Linked DNA regions of Homo sapiens: regions 1 and 3 are each linked to region 2. The links are contacts of gene promoters, found by promoter capture Hi-C in blood cells and fetal thymus (Javierre and others, 2016). All regions are on one chromosome and are shown on one strand. The core of a region is centred on a gene start or on the middle of the fragment in contact, and the rest is flanking DNA. Distances in the headings are between cores, read along the strand shown. Region 1 overlaps RCAN2 (regulator of calcineurin 2). Region 2 holds the start of RCAN2 (regulator of calcineurin 2). Region 3 has its middle 22 kb from the start of CLIC5.

Evidence for each region. The method cuts DNA at HindIII sites, captures the fragments that hold promoters and counts their contacts. A CHiCAGO score of 5 or more calls a contact.
Region 1: a fragment that was not itself captured here is called in contact with the fragment with the promoter of RCAN2 in region 2 in 2 of 17 cell types (total B cells and naive B cells); the score reaches 6.0 in total B cells.
Region 3: a contact is called between a fragment that was not itself captured here and the fragment with the promoter of RCAN2 in region 2, in 1 of 17 cell types (megakaryocytes). The highest score is 5.2, in megakaryocytes.

The regions. Positions count from the first base shown.
Region 1 is chr6:46,232,972-46,237,040 of GRCh38, forward strand. The region is part of intron 4 of RCAN2 (regulator of calcineurin 2); the gene reads right to left. The region is part of intron 1 of LOC105375079 (a long non-coding RNA gene); the gene reads left to right. Among named protein-coding and RNA genes, the nearest start is that of ENPP5, 64 kb to the left of the region's middle. The HindIII fragment of the contact is 916 bases long and covers 1,316-2,231 here.
Region 2 is chr6:46,488,181-46,492,741 of GRCh38, forward strand. RCAN2 (regulator of calcineurin 2) reads right to left here and starts at 3,269. Exons shown (of 5, transcript NM_001251974.2): 1 at 2,993-3,269. It overlaps RCAN2-DT (RCAN2 divergent transcript), which reads left to right and starts at 3,872. Exons shown (of 3, transcript NR_125837.1): 1 at 3,872-3,947. RefSeq lists an enhancer at 1-103 and silencers at 3,232-3,321, 3,832-3,891. The HindIII fragment of the contact is 5,722 bases long and covers 565-4,561 here.
Region 3 is chr6:46,035,784-46,040,276 of GRCh38, forward strand. It overlaps a transcript of CLIC5 not described here. Among named protein-coding and RNA genes, the nearest start is that of CLIC5, 22 kb to the left of the region's middle. The HindIII fragment of the contact is 6,541 bases long and covers 1-4,493 here.

The DNA.
Region 1 (4,069 bases), core at 524-3,023, 260 kb before region 2:
CACACACAATGTGCCCCCTCCCTTCCTCCATTCTACATATTTTTTTGCTGGAAAATGGTAAATGGTAACAGTGCAGGTAGAGGATAATGGAGGGATGGAAGCTGAGAATGCATAAAGGAAAGGAGGTAAGGAATCCTGGATGGCTTCTCTGGCGCTCCCAGCCACCAGCTCCCGTTCATCTTTGGTGTTCTCATTGTTGTTCAGGAGAGAACATCAAGTCACTCAAAGTTCCACGGTGAACAATGATTGAGTTAACCGCATCCAGGGTTTCTCAAATTTTGTCTTTCCTTCAGGAACTTCTTGCAATGCTGAATGAAAGACACCATCCAAAGAGAGACAGAGAAAGAAATGTTTGCTGAGTCATCAAATATGGTGGTGATTCTTGTTTTTATGTATAGAATTTTTTTTTAAGTTCTTACATTTGCAGGGGAAGCCCCTTTTGAAGAAACACTGGTGGCCACTGTAGTTTCATTCATTGCTCTGTGGATGGGGAGTGCATTGAGGAAAGGGGGATGGCCTCTGTCATCCTCAAATGAGGAATAGAAAGGAATCTGCAGCAGAGACCCAGAACCTGGGGTTGAGATGAGGGCAAGGCTCAGGCCAGAGAATTCGGAGATCTCAGACACCCTTCCCCTTTTTCCATCTGTTAGCAAGAAGCTGGCCATTTTAAAGAAATTGTAATAAAATACACCTAACAAAGCTAGGCCTTTGATTAAACCTTTTTTCCCTGGCTGAGATGAAGAACACTTCTTTTTTTTTTTTTTTTTTCTTGAGATGGTGTTTTGCTCTTGTTGCCCAGGCTGGAGAGTGCAATGGCACGATCTTGGCTCACCGCAACCTCTGCCTCCTGGGTTCAAACGATTCTCCTGCCTCAGCCTCTCGAGTAGCTGGGATTACAGGCACCTACGATCACACCCGGCTAATTTTTTGTATTTTTAGTAGAGACGGGGTTTCACCATATTGGCCAGACTGGTCTTGAACTCCTGACCTCAGGTAATCCACCTGCCTCAGCCTCCCAAAGTGCTGAGATTACAGGCGTGAGCCACCGTGCCCGGCCTGAAGACACTTCTTTTGCAATGCATTTACCACTTTAGAAGTGGTTGCTTTCCTCTCAGAATAGGTGTGTTGGGGGAACACTCAGAATGGGAGGGCAAGCAGGGAGTCCACTCTGTGTGCAGGGTGCAAAGCAACTTCCACATCAACTTAATACCATCAGATTGCTCAGTAGTAGAGACATTTTATTGCTGTGATCCCATTAACTCTGACATTGCACTGTTCTATTCTTGGACACTTTCTTACTATCGAAAGCCAGCAAAGCTTAACAGCTGCTGAGAACCACAAAATAAAAAGAAATAGCTTTGGTCTTGTTGGATTGAATTTTTCTTTTTTTGGCCTCTTTTTCCCTTTGGGCTTCAACTATTTCCTCTACCACAAGGGCTGACGTCAATGCTGTCACCAGGCACATGGACCAACTGGGCTTGTCTGGGGACAGAGAGTCTGTCAAATCTTACCCACACAGGGTGGGAGGTCCCACCATGGTGCAGTGAGAACAGACCAATGGAACCAGCATTTCTCTGAAAAGACAAGCAGAGGGTTGACCCATCACATGCTCACTCCTCTGCCAGTATTGAAACTGTCCTCTCCTTTGTGTGCAGAAAGGAGGCCAGGACCAAAAGTCACCAACAAGTGCATTGGTCAGGGTTTTCTACCTATTCCATGAAACAAACTTTCAGCCAATTAAATGAAAAACCTTTTAGCACATGGTTAACGTTAAATTCTCATTCAGGCCTTTGAAACTGACTGAGGTTTGGCCATTGCTTAAATTAGATGCCAAAGTTCTGTCTCGTCTTTTCCCAAGTGGCTGGAGACAGGTTTGTGACAATGTCCCAATTCCTCTATGACTGGAGGAGGGAGTGAGGGTGCCCATGGGCTGTTTCCCATTCTCAGGAGGGAGGAGGGTGAGTCCCTGTGCTGACTAGGGGCTGGGAAACTTGGTGACATGGTACAACCTCACTTGCCACAATTGCAGAGAAATGTGTTGGTGGCTGGCAGTCCAAGTGCCACTGAGTTTCTCTCTCATGCCACCTTGGCTTACGGGCCATGACTTGGCCACCTCTTAAATTCTTTCTAAAATAATCAGTATGATTATGCAAAGTTTATAAAAATCAGCAAAATTCAGACAAGGTAAAGGTAGAGAGATGAAACAGAGCTACATGTCTATGTATTAGAGAAGCTTTTGAGATTCATTATTTAGATTCCTAATAAGAAAAACTCTATGATGGAAGGAAGGGGAAATCTTCCTATAAGTTTAGTGCCTGCTGGACAAAGTCTTTGTATGTGTACTGCCAAGCAATAGATAGAATCCCAGAACTAGAGGCTTTGAAAATACAGCCACATCTAACAGGCAAGGCCAAGCTTTGCTCTGCTCAGCACCTGCTGCCCTTCTTTCCAGGACATTCTTTCTCTTGCTCATCATGAGCCCCAGTTCCTGCCCTATGAGGAGCTACATATCCAGGCCTGATCTCACACATGCATCCTGACTTACTGACGTCTCTCTACAAGTTGACTACTCTTTTCCAAACTCACATGTCTAAAGTAGAATTATTTTCTCTGCCAATCTAGGTTCCGTTACCAGCTATCACGCTTCTTAGAATTGCCATCATTCTTCCAGCCTTCTAGGTGCAAATCCTTAGAGTCAGTCATCCTTGAATTTTCTCTCTCTTTCATCATTTGTAATCAGTCACCAAGCACTATTGAACATTGCTTGTCAAACCTTCTCTGCATGCTCCTTCCCTACACACCCCTTGTTATAACCCTATCCATGACTAACCCTCCCACCCAAAATACTCTTTGCTGGTTTCCCCACGACAGGAACTAACTTCCGTGCCAGAATAAGCCACCTAAGACAACAGTTGGAGAGATCACCTTATCACATATGAGTAATGTGACTCTGAGAAAGTTATATAACATTTCTGAATCTCAGTTTTCCTCATCAATGAGAACAACACTCATATCACTGGGATACTAGGAAACAGACATATGTGTCAAATACTTGATAAAGCCCTCTCCCAAGATGCATGCTATGATTATTTAGGGCGATATTATTTTGGCCACTGTTGCCCCCAAGTAATTTCTGGTTTCCAGTATGATTAACTAATCTGATTACATCACACAATAGTCAAAGAATTAAGCAGCTGAACAATTGCAAAGAGCTTTTCCTCAGTGGAGACACCATTGCAAAGAGCAGTAAGGGGTGAACGATAACAGGCTGCATCCCACGGTAGTGGGTATCATATAATCTGGTCTTCAAAATGAACCTATCCTTTTTCCTCCAACCACCACTTCCCCTTTCTCTGTCATCACTGGCAATTTTCTCTCCTTTTTTTCCTCTTTCCTAACCTTTTCTATACCTCTATTTCCATGAGACAGAAAATCTTATGTTGCCGTTTTAATGAGATCTCTGATTTTCTTTTTTTTTTTTTGAGATAGAAACACCCATTTATAATGCTTAATTATATCACCTTTGATATTATTCATTAGTTATTTCCTCTAGCAATGTGTTATATTCCAAACCACTGAAGTCAAGACTTAACCTTTTGTGACTGCTGCAGCTTAAGGTACACATTAGTGTTCAATGAATATGTGATTGATTTATGAAGAGCATCACGCTTGGTCATTACTAACATACTTGAGTGATGTCTGGTATGTACTCACACGTGAATATTCTTCCTATAGTTTAACTTGTGTAAGTTTTAGCTTTTCAACTAAGTGGAAAACCATTTAAAGGCAAGCATCTATCCTCTTATCAGCATTCTATCAGTGCTAGCACACAGTAGGTGTCATAGAAACTCACTACATTCCCTAAACATAATAACAATTGCTTATGGAGCACTTACTAAATGCCAGGCACAGGAAAGTCTGTAACTACTTGGCATGAAATAGATCTTTAATTATAACAACAGCTCTGTCATGTGGGTTTCATAATATCTAGTTATACAACAGTAAGTTGAGATCACACAGGTAGTAAATGGCAGAGCCAGGATTTAAACTCAGGCTTGCCTGACTTCAA
Region 2 (4,561 bases), core at 2,019-4,518:
TTGGTAATTCAGAATGCTGGTCAGAGCCTGGGCTTCAATTCTAGGTGCACGTCTTACAAACTGTGTGACCCACGCAAGATATCCTCTCTTTGCCTTGGTTTTCTTGTCAGTCATCTGAGAATAACAACAGTGCCTGCCTCATAAGGTTAGTGGGAAGATCAGATGTGATAAACCAGGTACAGTTCTAACTTCCTTGTGTTCAGTATGTAGTAAGCACTGAATAAATGTTAGATATTATCATTATCATTATTATCACTGTTACCACTAGTAGTAGTTCAAATAACTGAGTTCATACTACCACTTTTGGGGATAAAGGTAGAAACAACTTCCTGCTATTAAGTTTGTCTCTCCTTCTTCTCTAAAAGCAACCTTACACAGTCTCAGAAATGAAGAGAAGTAAGATCAGTAGAAGGTTAGCACCAGAAATGAAGAAATTACATTTGAAAATAAAAGTGCCTACTGAACATTTTCATTTGGTTGTTCAAAATAAAAATTCTCCATCTTTCTCAAGTCTCCTCTTATTTACTCCCTCAGTTAAAAGCCTGACCATCCTCTAGACATCTAAGCTTCTCCTTCCATACCACCATCCACTTGGTGACCAATGCTACCGATCCTCCCCCTGAAATGGCTCTGTATAGATCTCTTCTCTTTCCTCCAGGCCATCTGGTTCAGGCACATTTCATAAGTTTTCTGGTTTTTGTTTTGTTTTGGTCTGTGCCACTCCAATGGTCTAAAGTCTCCTCATTCCTTTTTGCAACCCCACCTCCTCACACCTCCACAGTCACTTTTGCAAAATGTAAGTTAGATGAAATCATTCCTACCATTAAGGGCCACATGGTTTCTCCTCCTTAGCAGGGTATATTCACAATCCAGCTTCAGTGAAACCTTTCTAAACATTCCTGTCTTCCCTCAGAACATGTAGGTGTCCTCTGAATGTGACCTTTCTGCCATGTGTGTATGCTGTTCCTTCAGTGTGGAATACCCAGCCCCTTCTCTAGACAACTCCTACCACCTATTGGGATCCAGACCAAATGTAAACTCTTCTTTAAACTCTTCCAGATTCCCTCCACTCTTTCTTCTGTTGGCTCCCATTAAACTTGTTTCTGTCTTCATTAAACACTCATGATGTTGAATCATTACCATTTATTTTCTTCTCCTTTTCTGCTAAATTGATTTCTGGGAGGCATGGGCCTCATTCTTTTAGCCTCTGGCACAGGACCTACAAAGCACACAGGAGGTGCTCAACAAATAATTATTGAATTGATCGAGTGGATGCTACAGAACGTAAAATAGGAAAATGAGACCTCGGTGATTGTCAATGTTAGTCTCAATAAAAAGAATTTGTGATATGTATGACTGTCTGCAAATGATTACACAAGTGGTTTTTAACACCGTGATGTGCACTTACAAATGAGAAAGCTCTCGAGTTCCCACTTCTGTCTGTTACACGTTCATCACTGGAGAAAGAGTCATGCCCTCCCAAATTTAGGTGAGTTCTGGAGGACCTGCACACACTAAGCATTTTGAGAGCTCTCAGAATCATGTAGCTTTAGATGAGAACACTTTTCCCTCACAAAATTCTATGGACTGGACTCAGGTAGTAGATGCTCAGTAAATGCTGATTTGATTTGCAGTGGATTTGAATGCAAAGTGCAACTCACATTTTAGACTAATTGAACTCAATGGCTGATCATACTTAATATAATAGCTCTAAGGCTAAAGAAAATCAATGACTACACTGAAAAGCAGCCAAATGCTCACTCTCCTGCCTAGTTGACAGTCAATGCTGACCTGCCTCTTGATCCTTTCCAGCTTTTGGGTATTTCCAACTTCACTGTGCCCCCAGAATGCAGAGGCCGGTTAGCAAGTGTTGCGTGGTACCTTGTGGTACATTTGTTCTTCGTTTTGAAGTGATGTAATAAAGGATAACAAAGGTGTGAAACTTGAGTTGCACTGTTAAAGTTGTCCTACATTTCCTAAAGCCTCCCCTCTGCATGATAAGTTGAGTGAAATTCTGGCTGAAGGGAGAGAGAAGTGTGAGCTGGAATGCTGTGACATCCCTTCATCTCCAATTGTGGAAAACTGTGGGAATGCATATTAAAGGAACCCCAGAAACTTTTGTTTTTACTAAACTGAGACTTAAAAAAACTTCATTTGGCAGTTGAACACCTCTATCCCATTGTAAGAAACAGGAAAGATTCAAAGCATGCATTCTGCTATAATTCATTTTGGGATAAGAAATAGGCAGAAGTACCTCGAAGAATAAATCATTAACTAAAAGGCAAACCGAGGCACCCTGGAAACCAGCGAGACCTGGAGGCGGCCGAGGGATCAGGCGGCTGGGATTTGCCTGTTCCCTCTGGTGACTTCTGGAGCGAAGCATCCCACAGGCAGGACGAACCCGGCACACTGCGCTCCGCTCCATTTCACTTTTCAAACTTGAAGTTATTTTTAGATGACCCAAGGCCGCTAATCCCAAGCAGGACAATTCTCAGCCCGCTGCACCTCAGTGCACCTACCCCCTCCCCAGCCTCTGCATTGGGAAGAAGGGATCTCTCGATCTTCTTTGCTCTCTGCATCCAGTTAGTCTCTTCTAGACCCTCTCTAAGCCTCAGTCCCGGGGATCACAGGCGTCATCCTCGCTCCTTCACTTATGCACCTGCTGCTGCTTCCAGGAAGGCAAACCCCCGGGCCACGGGCAGTGGGGAAGGGGCTCCTTTGGACCCGCGCCCCCTAGAGGGGGGTCGCGGGAGATCTCCGTCCCCACGGCCGCAGCCGGGACTGACCACAGATCTGGAGACAAACCCCACCCCCGCCACTGCCCCCACCCCCGCCACCGCCCCCGCCCCCGCCCCCGCCCCCGCCCTGCACCCAGACCCGGCCCGGAGACCAGATCCCCGCCGCGGACCCCCGGCACGACCCCGGGGCTGCTGTCAGCCCCGGCGGGACGGGGTGCCTGGGCGAGCCTGGCCGGCGCGGTTACATAACCGACCTGCTGGGCGTCCGCGATGCGCCGGCGGAGGCGGAGGCGGAGGCGGCGGCTGGGGCGTCTACGGGGGCCAGCTGCTAGCGCGCGGCGCTGCCTGCTCACCTGCCCGCCGGTGCGAGCGCGTGGGGGCGGCGCGGTGCCCGCGGGCCTTTGCGTGGGGCCGTACGCGGCGCGGCGCGCCCCGCCTCCCTCTCTCTGCCGCCGTGGGTCAGTGGGATTCTGCCTGCTGCCCGCTCCTCCCCGCAACCTCCGCCGCCGTCACCCGGGACAAAGCGGCTCCAGGGAGGGGCTGAGCCGGCGGCTCTCGCAGGAGCCGGCGGAGATGGGCGCGTCCCCAGCTCCGACTCATCGGGCCAACCTCCAATCAGACCCAGGGAAACCGAAAGCCCCTGTCTGGCCTCTTCTCATCTCCTCCCTCCTGACCCGGCGCCCTCCCCAGTCCCCTACCCACCGCACCTCCGGGGCTCTCACCCTGCCCTCAGCCCCGCACCCCCTCCTTTCCACTTCAGGTGCCCGGGAGGGCGCAGGAGCCTCCGGGCACCTGGCGTGGGAGCCTGGCTGCAGGAGTCCCGGCCTCAGCGGGAAGAGGCTCCTCGGGGTCCCATACTAAGCTGAGGGTGAGGGGGCAGCGACAGCCCAGAAGAAATGGTCAGAGAAGCAAACTGTGGTGGGGGAGTACTGGGAGAAAGACTCTTCTTACCAGATGTCTGAGCCCCCCGACTCTGGCTAACTGAGGAAATGTCGGGGAGCCCCTGGATGGTCCTCCCGGGCTTCTGCGCTTGGTGGGCGCTGGCGCCCTCTGGCTGGAGCCCTGCGCCCGGCCCAGCCCAGGCCGCTGAGGGTGCCCTGCGCGGGCTTCACAGCTTTGCCAGGATTTGCAGCCATCAGACCTGAGGACAGAAGGGTTCGGGCTGCAAGGAATCCTATTGTGTGAGAGCCATGACACAGTGAGTGGGAGGTTGGTATCCTACAGCAAACGGGACTGAAGGTGAATCGCAATCTAGGGTAGATCTGTTGCTCAACAAAGTTAACCCCAGTAGAAGTCTCTGCTTTACGGAATAAAGCAACTCAAATGGGTAAGGAAGCCTGTGGCTTACGGGTGGCACAGATAGGAACAGGACTGAGTCTCATGGCAAGAGAATGTGAATTATGCAAAAGATCATAGGAGAGTGCGGGAAATTAAAGGAAGGAGGTGTGCAGACCAATCTGAGGGAGGGAGTGAATAACATTTAAATCAGGTTTGTGTTCTGTCATCTTTCGAATTGCTGCATAAATAAGCCGTTTTCTTTTTGCTTTTTATGCCTTTTGATTTTCTGATAACAATATTACGATTGCACTGAAGCAGTCCATTCACAATCATTCTTCACTTACCCACACTACGTTGTTTTTTTCCAAAGTTGACATACAATCACGTTTTGTTTGTTTTCAACAAAAAAAGGTAGACGAGACGTTGGCTCTTCTCTCTGATTAATCTGCATTAACATAAACACAATTTCAGAATTGAAAATGACCTTAGGCTTCCCCTCGTTCAGCCTTCCCCTGGATGCATAAATCTGTAATTAGTCGTTGATT
Region 3 (4,493 bases), core at 951-3,450, 450 kb before region 2:
CACCAGGCTGGAGTGCAGTGGTGCGATCTCAGCTCACTGCAACCTCTGCCTCCTAGGTTCAACTGATTCTCCTGCCTCAGCCTCCCAAGTAGCTGGGACTACAGGTGCGTGCCACCACACCCAGCTAATTTTTTTGTATTTTTAGTAGAGATGGGGTTTCACCATGTTGGCCAGGATGGTCTCAATCTCTTCACCTTGTGATCTGCCTGCCTCGGCCTCCCAAAGTGCTGGGATTACAGGCGTGAGCAAGCATGCCCTGCCCAGAGTTGGTTTTTAATGACTCCTCCCCACCCAAAGGGCCTCCCCTGCACCTTACTTGTGCTCAAATTCTCAAATCCCACCTTGCTTGGAGGCCTTCTCTTAACGATCTTTCAAACTCAGGATCGCTCCTATTGTTTCATTTGGCAACTATTTATTATTTGGCAGTTTATTTATTTTACCCCTTTTGTTTAATCCCAAATTGTGTTTTATTATTAGTTTTCCTTTCATTCTTGTCTTGTCTCCCCACCTAGACTGCAAGGTCTTTTTTTTTTTTTTTTTTTTTGAGACGGAGTCTCATTCTGCCGCCCAGGCTGGAGTGCAGTTGGCGCGGTCTCGGTTCACTGCAAGCTCTGCCTCCCAGGTTCACACCATTCTCCTGCCTCAGCCTCCCGAGTAGCTGGGACTACAGGCGCCTGCCACCACGCCCAGCTAATTTTTTGTATTTTCAGTAGAGACGGGGTTTCACCATGTTAGCCAGAATGGTCTCCTTCTCCTGACCTCGTGTTCCGCCTGCCTCGGCCTCCCAAAGTGCTGGGATTACAGGCGTGAGCCACTGCGCCAGGCCGACTGCAAAGTCTTTGAGAATAGGACCACATCTTACAGTTATTTGTATTTATTCACAGTGTATACATAGTGCTGGAAATGTGCTCAGTATTTGTGGAATAATGAATACCTATTGAATGAATTCAGTGGCATTTTATAGTATCAAATGTTTTGCTGGTAGATTCCAAAGGGTTTGTAGTTTCCATACTTTATATGTTTTGTAGTATAAGAATTGTGATAGCTTGTTTCAAAAATAATAAGGGAAGTCTTGTTCTTAAGAATCACTGCACTCCAAATTCTCTATCTCCTTACTTAAAAATTTAAAATAAGATAATTAAAGTCTCCTTAGTATAGTCTATAAAAGTTGAAACACCAATTTTGAGATTCTTCCAGAAGAACAAGCAAGAAAAAAATACCTTCCCCCATTTTTTTTTCATCCTTAGTTTAACAACCCATATTCAACCAAAGGTCTTCATATTTTTCATACAGATGCCATGTGTCATTTCTTTTGCTTCCTTCATGCATATCCAAGGACCTTCATCATAAGAAGGACATCACTGTCATTCTGGCCGGTGAATGATTATTCATTTTTCCCCCTTTACTTACAACATGCTAAAGAGCTCTTTTGTATATCTGTGTCCAAACCTTGATTTGGTTCCAAAATCAAAATTACAATCTTTTGGTCACAATTTATCCACTGAATGGCATGCTCAGTCAGCTTGAAGGAGCAGATTGCTTCAGTTGTATTGTTGGGTGGAAAGGGCTGAGAGAGGGGGCCAAAAGACTATGCTCAGTAATAAATTAATGGAAGAACAAAGGAATGAATAAATAAATAAGTGAATGGATCACCTAAAGAATGGCACCAATGTCAGAGAGCTTCCTTGGTTTGCTGAACCAAGTTACCTTGAAACTTGATACATGTCACTTAAACTTCCTGATTTCCTTTTGCCCCAAGATGATGGCAATATCACCTGTCCTAATTATCTTACAGAATTATTTGGGTATGAAGTAAGATAATATGGGTAAAATTTTTATGTGTTGGGCACCCTATTTTGAATCAGGTGTCATTTAATGCTGAGGACAATAATTCCAATTAAGTATCAGTAGCACTATTCATTGATAAGGAAACCATGAATTGGAGAAGTTAGATGATTTGCCCAAGGATGAATATTCATTCATTCCTTACCTATCTTGGGTGTGCACCAGGGAAGTGGTAATTGCGGGCTAACTGAAGGTACAAGGGGGCTGAATAACTACAGAATCACAGGAAGGATTGGTATTTGGTTACAGGTAGGGATTCACCAAAAGACATTTTGCTGTGTGGGTGGAAGATAATACAATTACATTGAGAAGATTAGGCAAGTGACAATAAGCCTCAGGGAAAGAGGATGAGACCTAGGCCTTCAGATAGAGCCTGGGATTGGCCTCAGTGGGACTTTTTGTATTCATAGGACTCACTAATACTGGCTTATTATCTGGTAGAGCTCATTGGCCCAGTCCCTCTGGTAGCTATTCTTCAGTATTAGATATACTAATTCTCAAGTAGAAGGGACCCAGGAGCTCACTTGATCCTATGCCTTCATTTTTTCCTTTCACTTTCATAAATGAAAAAAAAATGAAGCACAGATAGATGTTTTGTCCAGTCAGTTAGCAGACTGCATGGCTGAATAATATTTGTTGTATAAATGAATGGATTTTGAACTCTAACTACAAAATCTAGGCTTTAGACTGAATGGCCCTGCCTTTCAGAGAGGTGCTTCCCACCCAGGTGGGTCCTCATGCCCCATGATCCCCTTAGTTGTGCTCTGTCCTTGGGAGAAAGGGGACAACCCAGGCCTGCATTAGGTTGACTTCCCAGAGGCCCTTCTCTTGGATGATTTTCCAGCTTACACCATTCTTCACTGTTACTCTGCTAAAGTCAACATGTAAGAGCCATGAACAATGGAAATGAGAGTGAAAAAGAAAAGGAGAGAACTTAAGAAAGGGAAGTTTACTGGCATAAAAACCCTACTTCATGTCAACAGTTTTAGAAAAATTCAGTCAGTTCTAGTGGGCTCAGCCAGACTTAATCTACATTAATGAAAACCCACGTGTCTGGAGATTCTCTCTAGCACTCTCTTTCCCAGATTGGTTCATCTGGGGACATGCCTTTCTGAAACATTATGGCTTTCAGAAGATTTCCTAGTTTATACTAATTTAGATATTGTTTTCAAGTAACAGAGAAAATTGCTACAGCATCTGAACTATTTATCTTCCTAGATGTTGTAGTTAGAGCAAAAGCAGATGAGTTGGGAAAAGATAAATTCACTAAAATTACTTGTATCCTGGTATTAAGGTGATGAATAACTTATGATGATGTAACATCTATGTACTATGGAGATAAGAATATCATTAAATGCATACATAAGAATTTAGCTCTCAATAAGAAACTTATTTTAAAAGGATACAATCTTATAGGAATAAAAGAATACTATTTATAAATGAAGAATTATAACTCATTCATGCATAGAAAGCCAAATATTCTGAAGATAACAAAACTCTCTGTTCTTACAATAATAATTAAAATCTCCATAGTATATTCTATAAAATCTGAAACACTGATTTTAAGATTCTTCCAGAATAACATGAGGGAAAATATACTAAATTTATTTTTTCTAAAGGGATTGGTATTTACCTTCTGGATTTTAAAATATGTGACAATTACCAAAACATCATGACATTCAGTTAAAAGCAGGAAAAAGATGGGTGGAGACAATAGATATTTCCAAAGTAAATTTAGACCATAATAAGAACTTATTACATTAAAAAAACCAGATATACATAGGCAAGAAGTGATCAGTATTTAATACAGAGGACAATCAGGTCATGGTGCAGAGACGGCATTAGATTCATTCCTCATATTATATATTATAATAAATTTTGGTCAAAGCAAAATAAACATAAGCATAAAATAAACATAAAAAGAAAACGAATAAAATAAGCATATTATTTTCAATTAAAGAAGAAAAAACATTTCTGATTTGCTGAGATATAATTATAAATAAAACAGATATGTTGGAATAAAAAACAAAAGGGATTGTAAGGAAGTTAAAAAATTGTAAGTTATAAATGTTAAAAAGGAAGCTCTACTCTTAAGAAATGAACAGAGAATTCATCTAATTAAGGTCAGTATTCAGCTTTTCTTCAAAATGAGATCATAGGAAATAAATGGAGGGCATACACATAAGGAAATGCAGACAATAAATCAGCACATGGAAAAATGTTCAGTCTCAATAGCAACTAAAGAGATGTAAACAAAAAACCTTTAAAACACCACAGCATATCAGTTAAGTAACTGTAAACCCTGGCAATTCAGACAATGAGCTTTGGAATCAGATAGATGTAGATATGGATCCTGCCTTGCCACTTTTTAGCTGTGTCTTTGATTCAGGGTCCCAACCTCTCAGCATCCATTTTCTAATCAGTAGCATACAGCTATTATACTTAAAGGATTAGTGTGAGGATAAAATGATTAATGTAAATAAACCATTCAGTACAGTATCTGGCACATATTGAATGTTTCCGTTAATGGTAGGCAGCAATAGTGGTGGTGGAAGATAATGATGATGGTACTAGTGCTGGTAATGGTGGTGGTGAAAATGATGGTGACGGTAGCATGTGATGACACTGTTGTTTGTTGGTGGTGTTGT